4 separate regions of the Homo sapiens genome follow, and regions 2, 3 and 4 are each linked to region 1. The links are contacts of gene promoters, found by promoter capture Hi-C in blood cells and fetal thymus (Javierre and others, 2016). All regions are on one chromosome and are shown on one strand. Each heading gives the region's core, a stretch centred on a gene start or on the middle of the fragment in contact. The rest is flanking DNA. Distances are from core to core; before and after follow the strand shown.

Region 1 (6,885 bases), core at 108-2,607:
GTGACTCAGTATTTTCTCTTCTTTTAAATCTCTTCTTTTCTCCAGTTCCCTAGCTCCGTTCGTCTGGCTCACTGTTTTATCTTTGAGCCGGGACCCTCCAGCCTGTCCCCCCTCCCAGAGCTCCCGGCCGCCTCGTCTTCCCGGGCAGCCGCTCCGGCTTTTCCCGCTCCCCTCGCCGCCGCCACCCTCTGGCCGCCGGCCTCCCAGGCTCCAGGAATCGCCCAGCAAGATGCGGGAGGTAGGCGCTCGCAGGCGGCGTGGCGAAGCCAAGAGTGGCCAGGAAGCCGGCTTTCCTCCCGCGCCGCCACTGCCAGCGCCGGTGTTCACGCTCCGTTCGGGGCCAGGCCGGCTCGGCTTGCAGGACTAGGGGCTGAGCTGGGAGATGTTGGGGGCTACTTTATTTTTCCTTGCAAAGAGTGGACTGTGGTAAAGGAGAGGGAGAGAAACGCCTACGACCCAGGCAGTTCAGGAACTCGAGTGCCGGCTGCCGGGTGAGCGTTCGCCTGACTGCAGCGATCTGCTTGCCCGAGGGCGAGCCCCAGCGCGCAGGGCCTGGGCGACAGATGGGGGGACAGGGAGAGAGAAAGGCACGGGGTGCGCGGGGGGGGTGCACACGGAGAGACAGACCGTAAGAGCGAGAGACAGCATAATAATTGCGCGGCCGTGTCGTTACCTCTGCGCGGCGACATTAGCGTCCACCACTCCGACATTCCGGACCCAGGACCTGACCGAATCCATCTCCGCGCCCAGCGATTTCTCTTTCAGAGTTGGTCCTCTTCCTAAAGTATCTTGAATTCCAAACATTTAAAAAGTCTGATCCTCTACTGTCGCTTTAAAAGTAAGAGTTACAACACAGTCCTGACTGTTCCCAACGTTGCCAGCAAATCGTCTCCTCCAAAGCAATCCAAGAAAAGGGATCAAGTGCCCAAGTTTGAGTCTTAGAAAAAAAAAAAAGATAACCCGTCCTTTGCTTCACTGGCGAGGTGCGGACTGATGTAGTCAAAGTTTGGGTTCTTATCCTCCGCAAGTTCAGATCTGCCGCCTCAGCCACTCCACCCTAGGTCGCTCGCATCCTTCCAGCTGCAGTGCTGCCTCCTGAAAGTGATCACAATTTAGAAGCATCACCTGTTCTGGGAGAAACTGGAGGAAATTGATGGCTGCCTAATCTCTCCCCTTCCTCCAGGTCCCCCCTCCCTGCTCCTCCCCACCGTTCCAATTTAGAAAAAAAAAAAATCCCCAACAGGATCAGTTGTAAAAAGAAGGGGAAGACCTGGAGCCGAGAGGAGGCGGTGGCTGCGAGCGCCACGGAGCCCGGCTGCAGCCGCGCGCGGGCCCCATGAATGGGTTACTACGGCCCTGGCTGCGGGAGGCGGAGCTGCGGCCCGATAAGGAGCCTCATTTGCATGGACGCGCGGGATTGGCCGGCGCCTGGCAAGCCGGGCCGACGTCCTCCGGCGGCGCGCGCCACGCTCTGCGTTGCCGGGACTCCGGGAGGTGAAAGGGGACAGAAAGCTGCGGGCGTCGAGTCCTAGCACGAACCCCGTGTGCTTGCGCAGGATTGGGGGGCCCCCACACCCTGCACTGACTTAGGGTAGCAGGTCTCTGCGGGCTGGGGACGCAGGGGTTCGGCCTGGCTGCGGGAAGCCTCCCTGGATCCTGCCTCTAGATGTAGGCTTTTGTAGCCTGCCGGGAGGCACGTTCGTTCCCGGGGTTCGGATCTGTGTGCATGCTTGTGAGCGTGGCCACATGTGCTTATGTTTTGCGCAAACGTCCCCCAGAGCACCCAGCTCCCTGAATGGCTCCCCAGGTCTCCTGGAGTTCCATGGTGATATCAGATGTTGTGTGCGGCTTGCACGTTGCTGAGAGTGGAGAACATATGAAAGAAGGCGGGGGATGGGGTGGGGCGGACAAGCGAGGGGCAAGTGCTGCTCAAATACAGTGCTGGGGAAAACGGTCCAGGACCTAAGGAAAACACCCGCGGGCGGGCGGGCGCGAGCGGCAGTCGCACCCGTGTGGAGGAGAGGTTGCTGACAGATCGAGGCGGGCTGAGTGCGCGAGCGGCCGGGGAGTATTCCCGCGGGTCCTCCGGTTCCCTCCCCACCTCTCCGTTCCCGAAGCCCCCGGTAGTGGGCGGGGAGGGACGGGGGAGTCGTGGAAACTTCGCCCACCGCGCGCGGTCGCCGCGGTGCTGGCCGCGGGCTGGTGGCCGGCAGGCGGTGGCAGCAGCCTCACCGAACAGCTGAAACCCTAGACGGTTTTTTAACTGCGCGGGGCTGCTCGCGGTGCCTATTAAACATCCTCCTGGCTGGGTGTCATTTTCTTGCTTCTCCTTTTGTATTCTGATCTGCGCATAGATCTGCTGCTGCTGAAATCTAGAACACCAGCGCGAAAACAGATTTGAAGACAATGAATGCAAATCTGTGCTCAAAGACCATCTGCCGTGGAGGAGACAATCAGCTGTTCGTAGTTCGAGCGATTGCGCCCCAGTCTCCCGGTCTCATTACGGGGAGGGCATTTGCGAGCGCCTGGACTGCGTTCAGGGCACTTTCTCCCCTCTTGGGTCTCAGATTTGAGAGACCAGATCCCTTAGGTGTAGGTGAGCGCTCGCAAATGAACTGCTAGAGTTTGCCGCTAGAGGACACAGCGCCTTGCAACTGGTTTGCCTAGGCTGACAGGAAGCTTGCACTTCAAGAAAACTCGGCTCTCTCGAGAAAGGGACCGGTGCGCGCCTCCACCTCCCCAAGGGACAAACCGCGGCACCACGCTGCGTGCGCGGGATTGCGACTAGGAAGTGCTGGTCCGAACTGCGGAGATTCGCTTGAAAACGGATAGGGGGTTAGGGAGTTTGCGGGGCGGGTGCACGGACCGTCTCTGCACAGGCCCCGGGATCCAGGGACTGGGGTCATTGATTTGGGGGAAGGTAGAGAAGGTAAACCCCCCGCCTCTGGGTTGTGTTGACTGTGGTACCCCGACCCCAGAGCTCTGGCTTGGTCCTCCCTGTTGGACTGGAAGGGGCGGGAGAGCCATACAGGGCGATTGGGAAATGGATCGGGTGGCTAGTAAAAGCCAAGTAAGACAGGAGTGTCCAAAGGAAGAAGGGGGTAGGGAGGGAAATTTGTAGGGATGAGATTCACTGCCCTGTTTCAACTCGGCAATTCTCTGTTACATGCAGGTTTTACGGAGAATTTCGGTCCCAGCAAAAACTGATCACCTGGAGTCTTCTACGGTCTCTCTTTATAAATCTCTCCGAACCTCAAGCAACTCCCCCCCACCCCCTTCGTCTGGGGTCTGCGCCCAGCGGGGCCAAAGCCTTGAGTTCCTTGGCAGAGAGTGTGGAACAGCCGTGAGCCCTTCAAGACATGCCTATGAGCCCGGTGATTTTTTTTTCAAGGGGGCTTTGATCAGCTGTACCTCCACGTTGCCCCGGAAAGGTGCGCAGGGCACCCGGAGAGGCCTCTGGTCAGCAGTGGGCCTGGGCCAAGCCCCAACAGTTTACCCCTCAGGCTCAGGTTGGCTGGGGTTAAAGGGCAAAGTCAGGGTCGAGGGCACCAGCTTTTCTCGGCGGTAACAGCTGCCACCCAAATTATGCCCCCTCAGGAAGCGAATGAATTGTTCCTTTCTCCCAGCTCCCTGCTGCCCGCCCCAAAACAGACGGGGCCGCGCTCGGCGGGCGCCCCTCCTCCCAGCCAACCCCCCGAGACGCGCTCAGGGGCCTCGGTGCCCCGCTGGGAGGCAATTTGGGGGAGCCGTGGTCCCGAACTTTGACAGAGTGGGGCTTCCCCACTACTTGCCGGCTGCGCTAAGGGCGCCCCCCGCGGCAGTGCTGCTGGGAGCTCCAGGGATGGCTGTGTGGCTCGCTGCGGGCGTTGAAGTTCCCTGTTGGCCAGGCTGAAGTGCCTGCGCGAGCGTGAGGGGACAAGGACTGCCTTGGGCCCAGCGTGGCGGCGTTTCGGCCAACCCAGTTGGGGTTAATTGCGTCTGTATAGGTTTTGGGTAGGAATGCTCGCGGAGTCCGCCACCCGCGCGAAACATGCGTTGGTTGGGGGAATGAGCAGCGGCGGCTGCGCCTGGAGGGTTGCTCCCACCTCTGTCGCCTCCAGCTACCCCCAAACAAACCTCCTTTTCGATCTCGTGCAACACAAAACCTGCCCCGAGCTGTGCGGGGGCCTGGCAAGCGCAGCTGCGGCCCCGGGAAGCCCAATCCCGCGGGACTGCGGAGCCCACGCGCTCCTCAGGCTCCGGCCAACTAGCTCGGTTCTGCCTCTAGCCCGGGTCAAGAAAAATCCAAAATGAACACTATGATTAAAATTATTCACAATCTATTTATACAAAACTGGGGGTGTCTGTCTTTTACCCTGTCCCCTTCTTCATTTACCCTTCCCAAATGACCCTCACCCCCGTTTTTTTCATGTTTCTGTTTCACGTCTGCAACCCAGTGCGGTATGTTCGATTTCCTTTTAATTGGTTTTAAGCCCCTTTGCTCAATCTCGTCCGGTCCAGTCATCTGGGCGCCAAGTCTCTCCTCCCGATCAGAGGTTCGGAAATTTTACTTAGAAACTGCTCTCCTGGCTGTGTTCCTGTCCGGCAGGACACTGGGGTGAATTCAGAGATGTCAGAACACACCCCTAAATACGACCTTCACCCCCTCTTCCAGACACACACCCCCTGCGCCGAAGCACAGAGCCAGACAGTAGCCGGGGAATTCGATTCACAGGGAGAGCCAGTCTGGGTTTTATAAATGGAAAAAGTGGCTGTCCCCCTGGCCTGTCTTCGAACGTGAATTTTACAATTTTGGGTTTTTTATTTTTTAAGCTGGAACTTTTACTCTTTGTCCGACTACAAAGAAATAGCTTTACTTGGCATATCAGAGACCTGCCGAATATTTAACTCACAATTCTTTATGAAATGCTTTTTTTAAATATCGAACTCCATTAACTCTCACACCAAATTGCAACTTTGGCATTTTCTTCCGGAAACTAGATTTGTATGTTCTATAAATGCAAATTCCCTAGAGAGGGTGGGAGAAAAGAAACTAATCATAAATGCACGACAAATATCTCAGGGGGACTCCGCCGTCAATACCAAACAGCTCCCTTATAGGACAATTTGGGTAAGAAGTGGATTCGCTTCTTTTGTTTTCGCATAGTGAAGGAGATTCAGCGGCAACAGCTGCAGAAATACTGAGTCGTGGAGGAACGTTTTAGAGACACTTGATGTCGGTTGTATCCAGGCCAGTCGGGGCACTGCAGTAAGTTTACCCAAAATAGACTGGAGGAGCCAGATTCACCGCTACCCTAACACTTGGCAACTCCAGAAAGTCTTCCTCCTCGTCTTCCTCTCCTCTGCTCCTCCTCCCCCTGGTATTCTCCTTCAGAAATATCCCTCTTTCCCATCTCCTTATTCCGGGTGCAGAACGAGCGAGGAAGCAAAGCGGAAAGGTCAAGAGAACAAATTCTCGCAGCAGCAGCTTGGGGAGCGCGGGTGACCACGCGGAAATAGAGGCCCGGGAGGTGTGTGTGCTGCGGAACAGGCTGTCTGTATAGGGAAGTGATTGATAGCTTCCACGCGAACCTGGGGACCCGATTTCCCAGGTGGGAGGGGTGACTTTCACGTGAAGCCCCTGCTGGGGGCCTTGCTGGGGTAAATCGGCTGGCCGATTACAGCCCCTTTCAGGGAACTGTGCACGAAGGCGGTGGCATCTGTCATCACTATTTACGGTGCAGCGATCAGGGCAAGTTGACCCGCATTAAAAGGCCTAATCATGCTGGTCTCCGTGAAACGGAAGACCAAGAGGAAGGTACTAACGATCAGAGGCAGGACTTGCCCAGGCCCTTTCTCGCCCTTAAACTTCACAGCAACACTTCCAGTGGAATTTATTGATTTGTTTGCCCCCATTTTACAGATGAACAAAATGAGGGTGGGAGATGACAAGTGGCATCCCAGCTGCTAAATGGGGAATAAGGATCCTCCCCGATCTTCCACTTCTAATACTCAACAATAGGGTGCAACAGAAGGCCTTCAGAAAGAAAAAGTTAAATATGACATTTTTCTTTTTTCTTTTTTTCCGGCTTCTTAGCTCAGTGATAACCGAAGAGCTACTCTGAAATGCCCCCCTTTTCCTGGTGGTGCCCGCCAGCCGGCAGGGGAAAGCCCGAGGGACCTCCCAGCTCCTTCCCGGATCGCGGCGGAGGTGTGAGCGATGTGTTGATTATTCATATTTTTACCGAGCGCATACTCTGCTGCGGCCGGCGCCGCCACATTTCACACGTACACTGACGTACCCACATGCACAAGCGCTCACTCGGCCCCGCACGCAAGCAGCGCCCCGCGCGCCCGGGGCCCTCCTCGGATAAGGGAGGGGTGACAAAAGTCTCCCGCTCACTGCTGCCTACCCACCCCCAACCCGGCTGCCTTTTCCTCCAGGCCCCCACAAACACCCTTGGCTTTCAGATCCAACTTTCTTCCTCATAATATACTAGTCACCGCGACTCCCGCCTCCCGGATTTGAGGATGGGGGAGACTTTGGCGGCGGGGGTCAGCTGCAAATATGGCACCATCTAGAATTTCATTCCATTTAGCACTAGGCAACCTCCTCCTCCAACACACACACGCACTCGCACACCATCACGATCACCTCCACCTACACTGGCACACCTCACTCAGGTGGCAAGAGAGAAAATCCAGGAAAGTCACTTGCATAGAGTGCACGGATTTCAAGAAGTCTTTGACGGTGCAAACTGGACTTCTAATCATGGGATCTCTCCAAACACAGCCCAAGGCCTAGAAATTCCATTTCTGGCTCACGGAACCTTCCACCCCCACCCCCTCACCTGCCGCGAGCCGGGCAATCATTTCGGGGCGCCAGTGGGTCCAGGGCGCACGGGA
Region 2 (7,326 bases), core at 1,547-4,046, 480 kb before region 1:
TCTCCAAGGAAATTTCAATTTGTTAATGGACTCATTATTTCTGATAGGGGAGCTTAAGATCACACTGGATTTTGCACAAGCTACTACTGTTCCACTGCTTTTTTATTACTGGTATTCAAACCCAACAAACTTTGTCATATACCACAGGGTCCTTAGTCTCAAGGCCTTAAGGCACAAAGCACCGTTGGCTGAGACCTTTATTTTTATTATTATTTTATTGTGTTGTACTTTTTAAAGAGATGGGATCTTGCTCTATGGCACAGGCTGGAGTGCAGTGGTGCACTCATGGCTCACTGCAGTCTCCAGCTCCTCAGCTCAAGCAATCCTTTCAGCCTCTGAGTAGCTGGGATCACAGGCATAAGCCACCATGCCCAGCTGCTGAAACCTTTAGTTGACCACAGAGATCAAGCTGAGTGCCAGGCCAGTTCTTGAAATTTGCATATTGATGGAGCTGAAGAGGGCTTCTGTCCTCAGTGACCATCTTGGGTTTGTCGTGGGAATCTGCAATATCCTCTGTCCAACAGGCTCAGCTTGATCTCTGATGTCACCTAAAGGTTTCAGTCACCAGGCACAATGGCTCATACCTGTAGTCCCAGCACTTTGGGAAGCCAAAGCGGGAGGATTGCTTGAGCCCAGGAGTGCAAAACCAGCCTGGGCAACTTAGTGCGACACTGTCTCTACAAAAAAAATTTTTTTAAAATTAGCCAGGTGTGGTTGTGCACACCTGTAGTCTGAGGAGGCTGAAGTGTGAGAATCCCTTCAGCCCAAGAGTTGGAGGCTACATGAGCTATTATCACACCACTGCACTCACAACAGAGTGAGACCCCATCACCAAACAAAACCAAAAGAATTGGCCTTGTGGCTTCCTCACTGAGAAGGGGAGCGAAGTGCTGCAGGCTGTAACTATGGGTTGAGACTTGGAAGCTTCTTCATGGGGAGCAGGGTGCCAAGACAAGGGATGGAGGAGTCATTCTGGGGGCGAGTCCTAACAAGAGCCCAGGGATGAGATAAGAGGCATTGTGCATGTTATGCTGACCACAAAACAAGACCGGCCAAGAAGAGACTGGAAGGCACATTGTTTCTGGTGGCCTGATCACAGAAAATGGTGGAAATCTGGTTTTTAATCACTCAGGAGAGTTTTTTCTGGCTTCACCCTATCTGGTCTTTCAAGGAGCTGAAGGGGTATTTGTCATTGTGAACTAGGGCAGATCCTTGCATTGCAAATTTATGAATGTTGGCCCATCTCAGATTGTTTGAGCAGATTTGAGGCCTGAAATCTGTTATCTATCCCTCCTAGTTTCCTGTCATCCGCTGATTTAATGAACATATCGTCATTGTCCTCATGTAAGTCACTGCAAATGTTTCACGGAGGAGGCCAAGGACAGATAGTTCTATGGCATGATATAAAAACCTCCCTTCAGGTTGACAGTCATTTATTAATCAAACTCTTTGAGGAGAGCCATCCAAGTGCTTGCTAATGTATCTAATGGTACCAGCATTGAGCTCAAATTTCTGAATCTGGTCCAGAAGGATCTAATGAGAAAGTGTCCAACGCCTTGCCGAGGGGTAACTTATTATGTTTTGCAATTCTATGTGCCAAAAGCAGAGTGGAGGTTAGACTGGCATGATTTATTCTTAGTTAACCCATTCTGACTCTTGGTGATCACTGTTTTCCTTTCAAAATATATCAACAATCCATTCCTTTAGTCCACTGCTCTTTAGTTTATAGAATCTTTTTTTTTCACCTTTTCTTGAAAAGTGGGAACATATTTAATCCTCTCCAGCCTACAGAGACTTCCCTCATTCTCCACAGTTGTTCAGAAAGTATCTGTAGCATTTCACTTTTCATTATTTCTTCAAGACCTTGGTAGTATAATTGGTTTATTTATTTATTTATTTATTTATTTTTGAGACAGGATCTTATTCTGTCACCTAGACTGGAGTACAGTGGTGCCATCATGGCTCACTGCAGCCTTGACCTCCCAGGCTCAGGTGATCCTCCCACCTCAGCTTTCCTGGTAGCTGGGACTATAGGAACTCCCCACCATGCCCAACTAATTATTTTGTATTTTTTTGTAGAGACAGGGTTTCACCATGTTGCCCAGGCTGGTCTCGAACTCCTGGGCTCAAGTGATCCACCTGTCTTGGCCTCCCCAAGTGTTGGGATTACAGGCATGAGCCACTGAGCCTGGCCTTTGGTATAATTGGTGTAGATATGGAGATCTGAACTCATTGAGAGCAATAACAACCAACTTTGGCTTTTCTCTTACAATGTTTGTATTATCTTTCCTAATATGAAGATCAATTGCCTTGAGATAAGATAGAAAGAAAAAAAATAAACTGGAGCTGAGTAGTTCTATTTTCATCTATGATCAATTAATATTCAGTCTCTTCCCCAAGCATAAGACTTCCTTAGTCTTCTTGCACTTGATATACCTTTAAACTCCCATCTGCTTCTTGGTTATCAGTGGTACTTATCTAGGCTAAAACCCAGAAAAGTGCTAATACAGTTTTTATAGATGACTGACATGGAGTTCTTTTTTGTTTTTTAAATAATTGTTTTAATTTATTCCAGAACCACCTAGTCATGGTGAAACCTAACTTTATTAAGCTCCTGATTTTGGAGACCTACAATATCCTGCCTTCTGTATAGAAGAAGTATAGCCTTTCTACCGCTGCCTCCATCGTTTGCTTAAACTAATGTGAGTGAGTCTCCTTTATAATAATCAAATGGGCCTAACCAGAACCACCAGCAACCTTCATGCTTTGTTGCTTTGGGCTTCTGAGACTGTCCCTTTTAAGGTAGTCTTCGTGTTTGGTTTAGGCACTCTTTGTAGAGGATCCTTCATTCTCCCAAAAAAACTGCTGTTTGAAAACCAACATGGGCCAGTATTTCCCAGATCCCTTTGGTAACCACTGTCATGATCGTGCCCAACAAAATGCTGGCACTTGTGGGTGCTCCAAATGCTTGCTTGAATGAAGCAATGATTGAAGAGAAGTCTCTAGCCCCTGAAAATGCTCTCAAAAAGCCAAAGGAAAGCTCCATGGGGTTAGCAGAAAAAAGAAAGGGAGAGAGAAAGAGAAATTCTACACAATCATGAATTTCTTTCCCCTTCGTCTTTCTTTCTCTGCTTCCGTGTCAGAGAGAGACTTAGAGGTGTGCTGGAACACAAGTCACAGAAGAAGGAAGTAGAGAAGGAAGGGGAAAGGTAAGAAAAAAAGGAAACGGACATTGTCATATAAGAGGGGGAGTCATGGCATTTCAAACCTAGAAGGGACTCAAGCATCCATTTAGCCTAACTTCTTCATGTCACTGATGAAATATGAGCATTTGGTTTGGCATTTAATACAAATCTGCTGAAAAAAAAAAGTGAAGAAATTGAGGTCGAAAGACGTAGGTTAAACAATTTGTCTAAAGTTACAAAGCTAGTGAGTGTCAGAGTGAGGGCTAGAAGCCAGCCCACCTATCCAGTAATCTCCCACCACTTGGCTCTCAGGGTGGCCGAGGAGGGGACAGAAGAGAGGGGTCAGGATGAGAGGGGAATGGCGGGGTGGGCGGATGGCAGACTAAGTGGGAGGAGAAAAACTAAATTTGCACGTCGGCTGTTGGCCTCCCTTGTGACTTGCTTTTCTCCAAGCAGAAGAAAGTTTACAGCCACCTCACCTACTCAATCTGAACTTCACGGTTTCCCCATCCCGCCAGAGTGCTCTAGTTGGCTGGAGGCCTGGTCGAGACTGCCCTGTGACACAACTAGCTAGCTGCACAACCAGGGCAAAATACTGCTGGATTAACCCATGCTAATGGGTTACCTTTATTTAGTAATCATGGGTCCCTCATAAGCATGGTCCAGATCCGAACTGTTTTTGGAAAGATCTTGGACTTTCTAGAATTTCACCTACCCTGGAGTATGAAAACACACTGAAACAGAACTGGATAAGGATTTTAAACAGAACTTGCAAGTGAGATCATCATGTCCCCACCACCACTACCCTGCTGCCTCCTGACCCAAGATGATGAAGAACTGCAGCAGATTTTTAAAAAATGTTCCACATTCCCTTTGCTTCTCATCTCTAGAAAACTCTCCAGATCAAGAACTTTGGCCTTGGAGTATGGAGTTGGAGGTCATGCAGACCTGATTTCAAACGCAAGCTGTCACATGGTTGCGTTACAGTGGGGAGGGGACTTACCATCTTGAAGACAATTTAGATAGTAATAGCAACATGGAAAGACTGTGAAGACACTTATGATTTTGTGGGACCACAGTGCCTGGGAAACATCACGTGATTCATACATGTTGATTACATGTGTTGCTTGAATGAGGCCCTGTGGGCTTGAATCCTAACACCCTCACTCTCCAGCAGTGTGAACTTGGAGCAAGTTACTTGATTTTCTTTTATTTTTAATTAATTATTATTATTTTTTAGAGATGGAGTCTCACTCTGTTGCCCCGGCTGGAGGGCAGTGACGTGATCATAGCTCTCTACAACCTCAAACTCCTGGGCTCAAGCAATCCTCCCGCCTCAGCCTCCTGAGCAGCTAGGACTAAAAGCCTGCACCCCCATGCCCAGCTAATTTTTAAAGCTAATTTTATAGAGATGGTGTCTCACTATGTTCTCCAGGCTGATCTCCAACTGCTGGCCTCAAGTGATCCTCCTGCCTTGGCCCTTCAAAGCTTTAGGATTACAGGCATGGCCACTGTGCCTGGCCTTACTTGATTTCTTTATATGTTGGTTTTCTTACCTGTAATAAGGATATCTAATTGCAGATATCTTATGGAGATACTAATAGTGACTGCCTCATAGATGTGAGGATAAATGGAAATAATGCACATGCAATGCTTAGCACAGAAGCTAACAGATGATCAACCTTAGCTCTCGTGATTATTTCCTCATGTCATGTGATTTCTTGATGAACGCCTTGGTGTCTTGGGGGGCACCAAACAAGCTGGTTTAAAGTCCGTGTTCAAAACATCTGCCAAGGGCAGCCTGGCACCACGCTTGGGATAAATGTCTTCACTCCAACACAGCCTCATCTGGGCTAAGGGAGTCAAGCATCAGGTTTTATGGGTCTGACGAAGATGTTTGAAATATTGTAGGAGACTGTCAAGGAATACTTATACCCACTCTGAAAAAGGGCCGTTCTTAATTTTCATCTTTCCTGTAAGTCAGAAAGATATATACTCTCCAAATAATGGCAGTTTCCTTGTCCTGAAGTTATGGCAGCTTGGTGATACAATAAACAGCACCCTGTCATAAGGACCACATAAAACATGGTCTGACATTTCTTTAAAAGTAAAAAGAAACACAACCGCAGCAGATGACCTTTCCTCCGAGGGCACAGCTGTTTTGTGTGGTTAGAGGGACCCGCAGTCTCATATTTGGGGGCTACGATATACGACTGGCTTTTCACAAAGTGTTTCCATGAGAAACTACAGTACGTTCCAAAGGGGAGCACCAATTCACATCAGGCAGGGAGGATTTTTTTCCCCTCTTGATGTTTTCCAAATGATATTTGTGCTGAATATTTGCTATTAGAAACTTCTTTGGTGCATGAAGTGTGAGTGGTATCGAGAATACCAAGGTGTCTTTTGCTTCCTGGTGGAGTTTGATGGTGGGCTTTCTACCGGGTTGGTGAGCCAGCACCTTCGTGGACTTATGAGGAGTCACTCAAGCAGTGGTGCTTCTGTGGGTCAGGACTGGAAGTTTCTGGGGGAAAATTTAAACTAGTCCCTTTGTTAGAGATGGTAGGCGATTTCCATTTCATCTAAAAATGTTTATTCCTTTTGTTGAATATTATTTGTGCAATGTGCTAAAATGAACATTTAATAAATCTAAAAAATGTCTAGTTGTACATATGTTAGTGAGACTGGATGTTTTCTTCTTTTCCTTGTTCTCCAAATTATCTTTAACATGTTTTTATTTACATCCTAATAAAAATGAAATTAAAAAGGAGTGTTACATCTCCATTTAATTTTCTGATTGAGTTATCCTGGACATCAGTGGTAACTGAAAACATTCCTATTAAAGCACTAGATCCCCTCCCCTCAAAACCTCTATCCTCTAAATTAGAATAATAAGCCCTTTGAGATGGGAATTTGGCAGCCTCTCCACAGGATGGAGAGGAGCATATGTCAATTACTGATGGCCGTGGTGCCGAGATAAAAATGTGGTCTTGTTGCTCATATCCAAAATCCTGCTACTGACCTGACAACAGCAGAACACTGAGTGCATGTCCCAGTATGGTGGGAGATTTGTTCTGATTTATCTCTGGTCTCTCACCTTGTCCCCTGTGTGACCAAAGCTGGGCATATGCAAAATGACTGGCCTGGTTGAGAAGTACAAGGTGAGGCCCCCGAAACAGTTGACTTATTGGTAATTAGACCACACTGGTATTGAACCCATGACCTCAGCCTCATTAGAGCTGCATTCAGGCCAACTGAGTTGACCAGAAACAGATTCAAAACAGTGAGTGATAGAGGTCTTTGGTGCAGGGTCAAAGGCCTATTTACACTACCCAAGAGCATAAGTGGGTTCCTACTCTACCGTGTTAAAGGAGCGGCAGCAGACAAGATGGCCCAGTGGGTAGGTCATGATTCCCTGCTTTATACAATTGTACAGCATTGCTGTTCTGGCCAACTCCCACCTTCCTTTAACTAGGTCTTCATGTAACTCACAGGTTAAAAAGGAGAGAGACAAGTGTTTCAACAGGACTCTTCCCGTCCCCGCCCCTGCCAAGTTGCTAATGGCTTATAGTAACAAAAACACTAGGACTAAAGTCCATTTCTTTAGGAAGGAGTTCCTTTGAAATGACACTCTTTAAATTAAAAATATCCAAGTCTAAAATGGTGTCCATGGTGAATTATTATTTTCATCCTTTGCTTTTCAAGGAGATCTAAACACAGCTGACCAGTGATCACTTTGTGTAGAAAAGGAATCGGTTTCCCAGTGGGAGAGCAAAATACATGGAAAAGGCAAGACATGGGACTGATGAGATCTGTGTGCTACATCAAGGAAACAGACTAGAAATAAACTCAATATATGACAGAATGTTATGTGTGATAACAGTGGCACTTCCAGTGGGAGGAGAATAGATTGCTTAATAATGGCCGGCCATTTAATTAAGAGAGTTTATAAAATCTCTCCTTCAGACCACATCCAAAGTGAAGATTTAGATGTGAAAATAAAACTTTACAATTCTAAAATATAACTGAGTAATTTTTTAGTAATCTTGGAAGGCTTTTCTGTGCTTAAAAGTACAGAAATCATAAAAAAAAGAGATAATTTCATTCTGTAAAAATGTATTATGAAAACTTATGTATATATAAA
Region 3 (7,197 bases), core at 1,699-4,198, 430 kb before region 1:
ATTTGGGGTGGAGAGTTCTGTAGATGTCTATTAGGTCCACTTGGTGCAGAGCTGAGTTCAATTCCTGGATATCCTTGTTAACTTTCTGTCTCGTTGATCTGTCTAATGTTGACAGTGGGGTGTTAAACCCACACATTATTATTGTGTGGGCATCTAAGTCTCTTTGTAGGTCTCTAAGGACTTGGTTTTTGAATCTGGGTGCTCCTGTATTGGGTGCATATATATTTAGGATAGTTAGCTCTCCTTGTTGAATCAATCCCTTTACCATTATGTAATGGCCTTCTTTGTCTCTTTGTTCTTTGTTGGTTTAAAGTCTGTTTTATCAGAGACTAGGATTGCAACCCCTGCTTTTTTTTTTCTTTTCCATTTGCTTTGTAGATCTTCCTCCATCCCTTTATTTTGAAACTATGTGTGTCTCTGCATGTGAGATGGGTCTCCTGAATACAGCACACTGATAGGTCTTGACTCTTTATCCAATTTGCCAGTCTGTGTCTTTTAATCGGAGGATTTAGCCCATTTACATTTAAGGTTAATATTGTTATGTGTGAATTTGATCCTGTCATTATGATGTTAGCTGGTTATTTTGCTCGTTAGTTGATGCGGTTTCTTCCTAGCCTCAATGATCTTTACAATTTGGCATATTTTTGCAGTGGCTGGTACTGGTTGTTCCTTTCCATGTTTAGTGCTTCCTTCAGGAGCTCTTTTAGGGCAGGCCTGGTGGTGACAAAATCTCTCAGCATTTGTTTGTCTATAAAGGATTTTATTTCTCCTTCACTTATGAAGGTTAATTTGGCTGGATATGAAATTCTGTGTTGAAAATTCTTTCCTTTAAGAATGTTGAATATTGGCCCCCACTCTCTACTGGCTTGTAGAGTTTCTGCCAAGAGATCTGCTGTTAGTCTGATGAGCTTCTGTTTGCAGGTAACCAACCTTTCTCTCTGGCTGCCCTTAACATTTTTTCCTCCATTTCAACTTTGGTGAATCTGACAATTATGTGTCTTGGAGTTGCTCTTCTCAAGGAGTATCTTTGTGGCATTCTCTGTGTTTCCTGAATTTGAATGTTGGCCTGCCTCACTAGGATGGGGAAGTTCTCCTGGATAATATCCTGAAGAGTGTTTGCCAACTTGGTTCCATTCTCTCCATCACTTTCAGGTACATCAATCAGACGTAGATTTGGTCTTTTCACATAGTCCCATATTTCTTGGAGTCTTTGTTCGTTTCTTTTTAGTCTTTTTTCTCTAAACTTCTCTTCTCGCTGCATTTCATTCATTTGATCTTCAATCACTGATACCCTTTCTTCCACTTGATCAAGTCAGCTATTGAAGCTTGTGCATGCATCACTTAGTTCTCGTGCCATGGTTTTCAGCTCCATAAGGTCATTTAAGGACTTCTCTACACTGTTTATTCCAGTTAGCCATCCGTCTAATCTTTTTTCAAGGTTTTTAGCTTCTTTGCGATGGGTTTGAACATCCTCCTTTAGCTCAGAGAAGTTTCTTATTAGTGATTGTCTGAAGCTTTCTTCTCTCAGCTGCTCAAAGTCATTCTCCATCCAGCTTTGTTCCACTGCTGGCGAGGAGCTGCATTCCTTTGGAGGAGAAGAGGTGCCCTGATTTTTAGAATTTTCAGCTTTTCTACTCTGGTTTCTCCCCATATTTGTGGTTTTATCTTCCTTTGGTCTTTGATGATGGTGACACCCAGATGGGGTTTTGGTGTGGATGTCCTTTCTGTTTGTTAGTTTTCCTTCTAACAGTCAGGATCCTCAGCTGCAGGTCTGTTGGTGTTTGCTGGAGGTCCACTCCAGACCCTGTTTGCCTGAGTGTCACCAGCGGAGGCTGCAGAACAGCAAATATTGCAGAAGGGCAGATGCTGCTGCCTGATCCTTTCTTTGGAAGCTTTATCTCAGTGGGGCACCCAGCTGTATGAGGTGTCAGTCGGCCCCTACTGGGAGGTGTCTCCAAGTTAGGCTACTCAGGGGTCAGCGATCCACTTCAGGAGGCAGTCTGTCTGCTCACAGATCTCAAACTCCGTGCTGGGAGAACCACTGCTCTCTTCAAACCTGCCAGACAGGGACGTTTAAGTCTGCAGAAGTTTCTGCTGCCTTTTGTTTAGCTGTGCCCTGCCCCCAGAGGTGGAGTCTACAGATGCAGGCAGACCTCCTTGAGCTGCAGTGGGCTCCACCCAGTTCGAGCTTATGGGCTGCTTTGTTTACCTACTCAAGCCTCAGCAATGGCGGACACCCCTCCCCGAGCCTCGCTGCCACCTTGCAGTTTGATCTCAGACTGCTGTGCTAGCAGTGAGTGAGGCTCCGTGGGCATGGGCCCCTCTGAGCCAGGTGTGGGATATAATCTCCCAGTGTGCCATTTGCTAAGGCCATTGGAAAAGCGCAGTATTAGGGTGGGAGTTCCCCGATTTTCCAGGTGGTGTCTGTCACGGCTTCCCTTTGCTAGGAAAGGGAATTCCCTGACCTCTTGTGCTTCCTGGGTGAGGCAATGCCCCACCCTGCTCCATGGGCTGCACCCACTGTCTGACAAGCCCCAGTGAGATGAACCTGGTACCTCAGTTGGAAATGCAGAAATCACCCATCTTCTGCATCACTCACACTGGGAGCTGCATACTGGAGCTGTCCCTATTCGGCCATCTTGGAACCTCTAATAGTTTATTCTTACTATTAAAATAACACACATTTAGAGATGCAGACTAGGAAGCTTCACAGAGACAAGAAGTTAGTAAAAATATGTGGGCCAAAATATTTTTGTGAGAACTCTGGAGACTACTTGAGAAGTCTAAGCACCCTGAGCTACATACAACAGGAAGGGATTTCAGATAAAGGGTTAAGGAAGTTCATAGCACTTTGTATGCTCATCTGTGCTCTGCCCCCATTTGACCTAATGCAACACAACTGGAAGGAAACTTCCCATGCCAGGGATCCTCTCTTTGAATGAAAACGAAGGAAAGGACCATGTGTACAGCAGTCTGGCTAGTCTGGGAGCTGCCTCAAGAATTGGTATCCATCTCAATTGGCTCAGAGGGCTGATTGAGTTTGTGACCTTGTTTGCAAGCTGCTGAAAACAGGTTCAATAATAGTGGCACATTTGAGCTGCAGTTCCACAGGCAGGTGCCAGAGGGAGCAAGAGATTTCAGGCTTCTGAAAAGAAGCAAGGACAAGCTGCAATGGGAATTTCACAGGACTAAAAAGCTTATGTACATGCCCAGAGAAGACACATTCTCAGAGTTTGAAAGATCCTAAAATAGACTCTAGCTGCGCTGATCAGTGAAGTCTTTTGCGTGAAGCCAGACCATAAAGTTTATGAAAAGTGGTTGTTGTTTTGAATGTCCATGTCTTAACAGCATCATCAGCACAACAAAAATCACAAGGCACACAAAGAAACAAAGATTTATGGTCCAATCAGAGGGCCAAAACAAAACTTCAGAAGCCAACCCTAAAGAAATGAAAACATATGGGCTTGCTGACAAAGAATTTAAAATAACTGTCATAAATATGCTCAATGAGCTAAAAGAGAATACAGATAGATGACTAAATGAAATCCAGTAAATGACACATGTATAAATTGAGACTATCAACAAAGAGAAACTATTTTAAGAACACCAAACAGAAATTCTGGTGCTAAAAACCATAATAAGTGACCTCAGAATATCACCAAAAAGGTTCAACAACAGACTTGATAACGCAGAAGAAGAAATCACTGAACTTGAAGACAGGTTATTTGAAATCCTCAAGTTAGAGGAACAAAAAGTAAAAAGAATGAAGAAAGTGAAGAGAACCCAAGGAACTTATGGGGAAGTATCAAGCAGCTCAATATACTTATTACAGAATTTCCAGAAGGAGAAGAGAAAGAAAAGGCCAGAGCTCTTAGCTGAAGAAATAATGGCCAAATGTCTCCCAAATTGAAGGATAAAATGGACATACAAATTTAAGAAGCTCAAAGATTCCAACAAGGATAAATCCCAAAAGACCCACACCTAGATATAATCAAACTGTGAAACATCAAAGACAAAGAGACAATCTTGAAACCAGCAAAAGAAAAGCAACCCATCACATCAAAGAGAACTTTGATAAGATTACTAGTGAATTTCTCAGCAGAAACTTTGACGGCTAGAGGAAGTAGGATGTTATACTCAGGGTGCTGAAAGAAAAAAGGAAAAGCAAAAATACACTCCAATAAACCTGTCAACTGAGAATATCGTGTCCAGCAAACTGTTCTTTAAAACTAAAAAAGAAATTAAGATTTATTCAGGTGAACAAAAACAAAGGGAGTTCATTATCACTAGATCTGCTTGGCAAGAAATGCTAATGGGAAGTTCCTCAAGGTGAAGGGAAAGGATGGTAGACAGTAGCACAAAGCCACTAAAAAATATAAAGTTCTCTGATAAAGGTAAATTCATAGACATAGTAAACTTTATTACTGTAATTTTATTGCACACCTTCACTTTTAATTATTGTATAGAATTTAAATTACAAAACATTAAAAAACTATAAATCTATGTTAATCGGTATACAACCTATGAAGAGGTAATTTATGATAGCAATAACAAGTGGGAGATTGAGCATGTAGTACTAGAGTTTTTGTATGACATTGAAATTAATTTATTAGTTTAAAATAGAGTGTTATAACTCTAAGATGTTATATGTTATTACAGTGGTAACTATAAAAAAAATTTATAGAATATACACAAAAGGAAATGAGAAGGAAATCAAAGCATGCCAATACAGAAAAATCAACAAAACATAAAAGGAAAGCAATAAGAGAGAAAAAGAACAAAAAGCTGTAAGACATATGGAAAACAATTAACAAAATGGCAATGGTAAGTCCTTCCATATAGACAATTACTTTGAATGTAAATGGATTAAATTCCCCGGTCAAAGATATATTCGAAAATTTGGTTTTAAAAAACAGGATTCAGCTGGGTATGGTGGCTCACGCCTGTAATCCTAGCACTTTGGGATACGAAGGTAGGTGGATCACTTGAAGTCAGGAGTTTGAGACCAGCCTGGCCAACATGGCAAAACCCCATCTCTACTAAAAATTAAAAAATTAGCCAGGCATGGTGGCACATGCCTGTAATCCTAGCTACTCAAGAGGTTGAGGTGGGAAAATTGCTTGAACCCAGGAGGCGGAGGTTGCAGTGACCCAAGATCACAGCACTGCACTCCAGCCTGGGCAACAGAGCAAGACTCTGTCTCAATAAAAATAAATAAATAAGTACAAACAAAACCCAGGATTCATCAATATACTGTATATCAGAAACTCACTTTTGATTTGAGGATACATATAGGTTGAAAATGAAAGGATGGAAAAAGTGTTGCAAATGGTAACCAAAAGACAACAGGATAGGCTATACTAAAATCAGAAAACATTTACTCTAAGTCAAAAATTTTTGTTTATAAATGACAAAGAAGGACATTATGTAAGGATAAAAAGATTAATTCACCAAGAAGATATAATTCTAAATATTTATGCATGAAACATCAGAGATCCTCAGTATATGAAGCAAACTTTGACAGAATTAAAGGGAGAAACACACAGCAACACAATAAAAGTAGATTTCAATACCCCTCTTTCAATAATGAATAGAATAACCAAACAGAAATTACCTTTAAAAATAGAAGACTTGAACAAAAGTATAGATCACTTGGACCTAAAAGACATACAGAAAAGTCTACCCAACAATAACAGAATATACATTATTTTCACGTGCATGTGAAACATTCTCCAGAACAGATCACATATTAGATCATGGAACAAATCCTAACAAATTTTAAAAGATTGAAATTATTCAAAGTATATTTTCCAATCACAATGGAATGAAACTAGAAATCCATAGCAGAAGGAAAACTGGAAAATCCACAAGTATGTGGAAATTGAACAACACACTATTTAACAACCAATAGGTCAAAGAGGAAGTCAAAGGGAAATTGAGAAAACACTTTGAGAAAAATGAAAATGAAAAAAATCCCATATTTAAATTGATGGGATACAGTGAAAGCAGTGCTATGAGAGAAGTATGTAGTTATAAGTTCATACATTAAAAAAGAAGAGAGATAAAAACTTAACTATTTAACTTTATACTTCAAGGAACTAGGAAAAGAAGAACAAACTAAACTATAGCTACTAGAAAGAAGAAAATAATAAGGACTAGAGAAGAGATTAGTACTATTAAGTAGAAAATAGAAAAATAGTAGATAAAAAATAAAACTAAGAGTTAGGTTTTTGAAAAGATAAAGAAAATTGACAAACTCTTAGCTAAACTAATTGAAATAAAAAGAAGACTGAATTAAATAAAATCAGAAACAAAAGAGGGGATATTACAACAAATGCCACAGAAATAGAAATGATGAAAAGAGATTAATTGTATGCTAACAAATTGGATAACCTAGAAGAAATGTATACAATCCAACACAACCTACCAAGACTGAATCATGAGAAATAGGAAATATGAATAGATCAATAACCAGTAAGGAGATTAAATCAGTAATTAAAAAGTTCTTAACAAAGAGAAGTATAGGACCATAGAGCTTCGCTGGAGAATTCTACCAAATATTTAAAGCAGAATTAACACCAATCCATGTCAAGCTCTTCCAAAAAATTGAAGAGGAGGGAATATATCCAAGGTCATTTTACAAGGCCAGCATTACCTCAATATCAAAGCCAGACAAGAACACTAAAAGAAAAGAAAACTACATACCAATACTGATGAATAGTGATGAAAAATCCTCAACAAAATACTAGCAAACTGAATTCAGCAGCACATTGAAAAGATTATCCACCATGACAAAGTGGAATTTATTCCTGGGATGGAAGGATGATTCAACATATGAAACTCAATTAATGTAAACTTCATGTTAACAGAATGAAGGACAAAAATCACATGATCATCTCAATTGATGCAGAAAAGCATTTGATAAGATTCAATACCACTTCATCATTAAAAACACTTAACAAAGTAGGAATAGAAGGAAGCTTTCACAGCATAATAAAAGCCATATATAACAAATCCACAGCTAACATCATACTCAACGGTGAAAGACTAACACTTTTCCTCTAAGATCAAGAAAAAGGCAGGTTGCCTGTTCTTTGCTGCTTCTATTCAACATAGTATTGGAAATCCTAGCCAGAGCAGTTAGGCAAGAAAAATAAATTAAAAGCATCAAATAGGAAAAAAACCCTACAATTATCT
Region 4 (6,908 bases), core at 1,708-4,207, 460 kb before region 1:
CTCCCAAAGTGCTGGGATTACAGGCGTGAGCCACTGCACCCGGCAACCTCATGGATTTTAAAGTGTAATGGTGGCAGCAATCAGTTAAATAAATACTTATACTATGGTATATTAAATGCTATAATATAGGAGGATAGGAAGTTGTGGGAACAGGGAGAGAGGTCCTGATGGGTGATGTTTAAGCTAAGACTTGAAGGATAGGCAGTAGTCAGCCTGCCAGGCTGTGTGCAAATATTCCACGCAGAGGGAAGTACATGAATAGACATGAGAGAGAGGAAGAGGCATGCTGGGAAAAGACGCATTTCAGTTCTGCAGGACATGGTATAAACTTCCCAGGACACATAGAGGACCAGGAGGAAGGAGATTGGTAAGACACGAGACCCTAGCGGTAAGCGGAGGCCCAGTCCCAAGTGGCCTTTAACACCATTGTAAGGAATGTGGACTTTATCTGGAGGTGAAGCTGTTGAAATGTTTCAAGCATGCAAGTGGCATAATTAGGTTTGTGTCTTGGAAAGTGGCTCTACTTGTGGTGTAGAATGGATTGGGTGAAGCCTTGCAAGTGAAGGTTGTCTTAAATGGAAATCACCTACTTTTGTGCTCAATTGTATGCTGTCTTCTCCCTTCTTTGTTCTATGTGTATTGGCCTTTACTCTAGCTAGATCACAGGCATCTTCAGACAGGAACCATGTTTTATCCTTCTGTGCACAAATGATAGTAGATGCTCAGTAGATATTTGCAGTAGTTTGATTTTATGTTTATGTTGCTCCCTTTTCAGTGTGCCATTTCAACATCTCTGGCTATGCAATAGCCCTTCAGTGGGCAATAAAGAGAGGGAGACCTTTTTCTGGGTGAGTCCCATAAAAACAATCTCTGAACCTCAGTTTACCAAGACGAAAATCCACTCTTTGCCTTTTTGCTTTGTTAATTCTCAAGAGAGAAGAGCTGTGATTTGTACCACAGACAATTTCCAACATTCAAAGTCGAAGTACGTTTCCCAAAAGGCTGGGCAAATTCCAGTTGTAGAGTTAGACAGAAAGAGAGTGTTGGTGTTGTTTGCAAGGCCACGGAGGTACAGACTGGTGGTTAATTCCCTCGTACTTCTCTGGAAAAGTAGCTCCCCTCCACCACCCACCAGGCACATTCCTCAACATCCACCAGGGAATCTGACCCCGTTAGCACTTAATATTTATGACCAACATTTGCTGGTGATTATATTAACAGTCAAATGATTATAATTCTAAATGCAATTTGTGTGTGTGTGCATGTGTGTGTGCACACTTGCATCAGGGGGAGGTTGGTATTCTTGCAGCAAATATATTGTCTCCTTTAAATTGTATCCGCATAATACCAAATTGGAAATTGCGCTAATGTACTTATTAAAGAATATAGAGGCAAAGAATGTAGTCCCAGGAAAGGGTGTGTTACAGGTGAGGAAATTGAAGGCAAGAAAGAGTCTTTGTTTTGGGCCATGCAGAGACAGCAGAGTTGGAACTAAAACTAGGTATCTCGACTCCCAATTCAGTGCTCTCTCCACAGTGCCCCAGGGCTTTTCCTCTATGTGTTTATTGCCTTCACACAGTGCTTGTCTGAAAGCCAGGCTTGGTGTTTTTATGTTTATCCAGACATTTCGTCTTGCCCCCATTTCCTTGCCATCTCTTTGGGCATTGGAGGCTACTGTCCCCCTGTGGGGGTTGCAGGTAGCACCCATGTTCTGTGGTTTTTCCCTCCTGCAATCACTTGGCCAGGAGCTCAGACCCCAGGCATCCACATTTTAGTTTTGGGAGGACAAGGATATTTGTTTCCTTCACTAATTCTTTAAGCTTTCTCTCTAGCTTCCCTGACTACCTCCTCCTCCACTCTCTCGAGCAACTTGGGTCACCTGTATTAACTTCTGTCCATCTTCACATTAGCTGTGGTGCCCAATCTTTATTTGTTTATTATTTTTTGGAGATGGAGTCTTGCTCTGTCACCCAGGTCAGAGTGCAGTAGAGCGATCTCGGCTCATTGCAACCTCTACCTCCCAGGCTCAAGCAGTTCTTGTGCCTCAGCCTCCCCAGTAGCTGGGATTACAGGTGTGTACCAACACGCCTGGCTAACTTTTTTATTTTAGTAGTGATGGGGTTTCGCCATGTTGCCCAAACTGGTCTCAAACTCCTGAGCTCAGGCAATCCACCCGCCTCAGCCTCCCACAATGCTGAGATTACAGGCATGAGCCACTGCACCAGGCTGATGTCCAATCTTTATTCATTAATTTGTCACTTTCACAAATTTTGCCATAGCCATATCCAGACTGTACTCAATGTTATGTTTTTTTCTTTAGATCACCTAATTGGTTTCTTAAACTTGAATACATTTGTTTTAAAACTTTATATGATTACTGTAAATGGAAAACCAATATCATTGGCCAACAGGGAAGGTAATGATTAAAACATGCAAACAGTGTTATTAAATTCTATCTAGATTCACTTGTTTGCTGAAGGCTCTAATGTTGAGTCATGCCCTCTTTTTGTTAAAAAGGATGATTAGCAAATGGTGGAGAGGTTGCAAAGGCTGATTCTCTCATTGATTTAATCAGAATGATTAGAAGGAAACCGACATGATACTTTTCCTACCATATGAATCTGTGGGTACTGCCTACAATCTGACGGTCCCACTCTTGGGTTCATCTTGATCCACAGAATTGTGTTATTCCAAGGAGGCTCTGACCACAGGTGCAACATGATCTCATCCAACTGCACCTACTTTTCCTACGTCTCTCTGCTGCAATGGTGCTGGCAGATCACTGCAGACCAATGTAGGTTGTGTAGTTGCCATCCCCATTTAAAGCTCTCACTTGTACTGGTGCCAAGGATGATGACCTATTTAGATAAGTGTGACCTGAATAAAAGTTGATCTATGATCCCGTGTTCTTGATCAGCACAGAGTTTATTTTTGATGACAGGAGAAAGCATAGGCTATAAACATTTCCTATCACACTCCAAACTCATTTTCTACTGTAGAAAATGAGAAATAGACAGTACTTCCCTTTTCCTTTTCTATTATATCACATGTTCCCTAAACGTCTTCTAGGCACTGGACATTGAAATATACAACTTGGCTGCTTACTTATTTCCAGGAGTCTGACTGTTTCTATTTGGCATGGAGTAAGTCTGGGCTGCCGTGCACTGAAAAGGGCTTGGGAAATGATATGGATTTGGGTTGGCAAGAGGCAAATGGCCTGGCTTAGTATTGTAGTCCCTTGGTATTGTAGTCTCTGTGAAAGGTACCCCTGGGGTTGTGCAGGGCATGGTCAGTGTGGTTGCATGTGGTGGTCTTCAAGGGTAAAGGATGGATGCTGAAGTCTTCTAGTGGAAGCCTGTGAATGCCTTTATTGAATTCAGTTTACCAATCATCTGTTCAAACCTCTCCTAATTCTCAGGAGTTTTTCTAGGAGGTAGGGGAAAGCAAATTTGGAGGAAGATGAGCCCTTGGCCCTCAAGAAACTTACATCCTGGTAATATGCACCATGACTCATGAAGAGTATGTGTCAGGTTCAAATCTTAGCTGTGCCACCTATTAACAGTGTGACACTGGACAAGCTACTTAACCTTTCTGGGCCCCAGTCGTTACTTACTTAAAGGACAACATAGAGGACCTTTGTGAAAATTAAATGATAAAATGATGCCTCGCACAGAGTGAGTGCACGATAAACATTAACTCTTATTATTGCTGAGAGAACAACTTTGAAGTGAAAAGAGAAATCCCTCCAAGGTGTCTGATACTCCAGTCACTAACAGTGTCATACAGATTGTAAACCCAATGCTAAAGGAGTTCAAATCAAGGAAAATGTCACCAAGGACTGGTGATAGGGAAACATATGTCAGAATGTCCCTACATTTCTAGCATGCTTCGTTTCTCCCTCAGTTTGTAAAATTATATTCCATTTATGGTTCCAGAAAACATAAACAGGATTCATGACTAGAAGAAGAAAAATTGGAAGGATACTAGTGTGTCCTTCTCGCTGAATTATTTATTGTTGTGTGCTGAGGAACAGAATGATTGCTTCTTGCCCCACTGTAGATGGATTGAATTTCTTTCTGTCCCCATGCAGTCAGGCAAGCTTATTTTAATAAGAACAACTTAATATTGTAACTATACAGTGAAGTTCTCTTGTCCCTCTAGGACACACCACACTGTACACTCTGAGCTTGGAAGGCTGTTCTGATTATTTCGGGTGTGGAAACTGAGTTACCCTCCCTAGGATGGTTTCTGTGAATGTCTTAGAATTGACAAGTAAATTCAATCAGCATTTTCTTTTCTTTTTTTCTTGTTTTGTGTTTGTCAAGTGCCAGATACCATGCTAGACACCTTCAGGGCTATGATTACATTGAATCCTCAAAATAATCTCATGAGCTAGGCTTTCTTATTATAAGCATATTTAAGAGGTAAGAAAGTTGGAGAGAGGTTAAGTAACTTGTCCAGGGTCGCCAAGGTAGCATGTGTTAGCAAACAAGATTTCAGTCCAGATTCTCTCACCCCCTACCCATTTCTAGCAATGCAGTGCTGCTGGAGACAGCACTTGTTGGCAGCTACCTGTCTGCTTTCCTCCTCTTCTTCTCCTCCTCTTCCCTCTTTCTCTCTTCCCTTCCCTTGCTTCCTCTTCAGTCCCTTCTCTTCCTTTCCTTCCTTCTTTCTCTCTTTCCTTCCTTTTCTCCCTCCCTCCCTTCCTTCTTCCCTTCCTTCCTTCATTCCTTTTTCTCTCCCTCTTTCCTTCCTTCCTTTTTTGTAATTTTATTTTTCTGCAGAATACTGTTTCTCAGTGGTTAATGACAGGTACAGAATAAAGTAACAGTGACATTGGATAAAACTAATGAAATCATCAAATTTGCACTTTTTTTTTTTGAGACCGAGTTTTGCTCTTGTCATCCCCGAGGCTGGAGTGCAGTAGCGAGATCTTGGCTCACTGCAACCTCCACCTCCTGGGTTCAGGTGATTCTCCTGCCTCAGCCTCCCAAGTAGCTGGTGCTACAGGCGCCCACCACCATACCTGGCTAATTTTTCTATTTTTAGTAGAGACAAGGTTTCACCGTGTTGGCCAGGCTGGTCTCAAACTCCTGACCTCAGGTGATCTGCTCGCCTCAGCCTCCCAAAGTGCTGGGATTACAGGCGTGAGCCACCGTGTCTGGCCTGCACTCTTAATTATTTAACTAAATGGGGATAAAAGGAACTTCAGTCCCTATCCCGTGCTGACGTATGGTAGGCATCAGAATATGCTTTCTAGACCTTATCCCAGCAAGCACTCCCTGGTGCTGGGTGTCATCTGTCCCCAGGACAGACAGGGAAGGGAGTCCTAGAGAGTCCTGTGACTTGCCCATTGGCTGCAAAGCTGCAGCAAGAGGAGGACAGAGCAGCCTGACTCCAAATCTTATCTTCTTTTGGCTGCAGTATTTTCTGAATTAGACATTAGCATTAGCCAAAATTTGGATTATAGGAGATAGGTATTTAAGGAGAGGCTTAGGGGAGTTTGTCCAATGGCAAAAATGATCAGATACAGCCTTAGGATCTGATACCTGGTTCCTGGATCTGCTATCACTGGTACCTGGAGCTGATCCGGACAATGGAGACAATGGAAAGATCAGTGAGCACATCTCAGACCAGAGCCCCACACTGAGTTGTGCGGCCTGATCAGTGAGAGCTGGTGCAGCCAGCCCGCCTTGTTGGCCGTCCACAGCAGCAGCCTCCCTTTCCACTGACCTCCCATCTACCCTCATACGGATAAGATTCTGTTTACTTTCCAACCTAAATGATTGTGGTTCTGGGAGCTGTTAAGAAGCCAACATGTTCCAGGCTCCCATGTTAATAGCATGGGGATTAAAACTAACCAAACAAGCATGCATTTGACAATAAATGAGGCTATTGGAAGTGAGTAGTGAGTACAGAAGGGAGCATGTGTTTCTTGCTTGTTTATTGACCCTGGTATGTGGGGCAAGTCTCTAAACCTCGGTTTGCCTCTGTTGTGCTGACTATAAAATGGGAGATAACAGTAGCACGTGTCCCTTAACACTCGGAGGTGGTGAGAGGTCAATTACTTAATGCCTCAAAAATCCTTCGGGCTCCACGGCCAGGACCAGAAATTGGAAGAGTTTTCTTCCCAAACCTTATCAGAATCCTCTCCTGTTTTCTGAAGCTCAAATCTTAGAGGGGAGTTGGAAGAAGACTGAAAGAAGAAAGGAAAAAAAGGAGAATGAAACAGAAAGGATTGGGAAGACAGGAGGTAGAAGGAGGCATTTTTGCATTCCTTTAGATAAAGGGAAGTACCCCCAAAAAAGATACTCTTGCTTTGCAGGTGTCTGCTCTGGAGTCACTGCTCTTTGGTGAGAGGTATGTAAATTGTGCATGTTTTTTGCATGTGAGCCCTTCCATGATTGGGATGAGCAATGGACTGACTTCTGGAAAGCTGTGGGTCTTGGGATTTGATCCTGGTGCTCCCACTGCGGTTCTTTCCCTCCCTGTCTCACAGAGCTTCCATCTTCTGTCAGGTCATTTCTGGCGAGACCTTAGATACAGGACCACACCTGAAGAGTGGGGCATCTTCAGCCCGCTGGGAAGATGCCTAGGTACCTCAGGGAGAATTGGGCCTTGTTCTACAGGCAGTTTTTCCCTTTGAGAAGAGGCAGATCTCCTGTCAGAGACTCCTAAAGCCAAGGTTCAGCTCTCCATGGCCACCCACTTTTGTCCACAGCTTTCTACTCAGCCTGGCAACTGTGGGGTGAGGCAGAAAACAGAGCTGGGTGCTTTGCCTTTTCTAATCAGAGGGGTATATATATATATATATATATATATATATATATATATTTATTTATTTATTTATTTATTATTTTTTTTTTTCTTCACTGTGTTACCCAGGCTGAAGTTCAGTGGTGTAGTCA

The links. The method cuts DNA at HindIII sites, captures the fragments that hold promoters and counts their contacts. A CHiCAGO score of 5 or more calls a contact.
Region 2: a fragment that was not itself captured here is called in contact with the fragment with the promoter of EBF2 in region 1 in 1 of 17 cell types (endothelial precursors); the score reaches 5.0 in endothelial precursors.
Region 3: a fragment that was not itself captured here is called in contact with the fragment with the promoter of EBF2 in region 1 in 1 of 17 cell types (endothelial precursors); the score reaches 6.3 in endothelial precursors.
Region 4: a fragment that was not itself captured here is called in contact with the fragment with the promoter of EBF2 in region 1 in 1 of 17 cell types (endothelial precursors); the score reaches 5.1 in endothelial precursors.

The regions. Positions count from the first base shown.
Region 1 is chr8:26,044,056-26,050,940 of GRCh38, forward strand. EBF2 (EBF transcription factor 2) reads right to left here and starts at 1,358. Exons shown (of 16, transcript NM_022659.4): 1 at 674-1,358. The coding sequence starts at 804. RefSeq lists enhancers at 3,874-4,666, 5,065-5,944, 6,824-6,885. The HindIII fragment of the contact is 12,164 bases long and covers 1-2,677 here.
Region 2 is chr8:25,563,870-25,571,195 of GRCh38, forward strand. No RefSeq gene overlaps it. Among named protein-coding and RNA genes, the nearest start is that of CDCA2, 110 kb to the left of the region's middle. The HindIII fragment of the contact is 3,749 bases long and covers 923-4,671 here.
Region 3 is chr8:25,612,829-25,620,025 of GRCh38, forward strand. No RefSeq gene overlaps it. Among named protein-coding and RNA genes, the nearest start is that of CDCA2, 160 kb to the left of the region's middle. RefSeq lists an enhancer at 1,752-2,253. The HindIII fragment of the contact is 491 bases long and covers 2,704-3,194 here.
Region 4 is chr8:25,586,967-25,593,874 of GRCh38, forward strand. No RefSeq gene overlaps it. Among named protein-coding and RNA genes, the nearest start is that of CDCA2, 130 kb to the left of the region's middle. The HindIII fragment of the contact is 2,279 bases long and covers 1,819-4,097 here.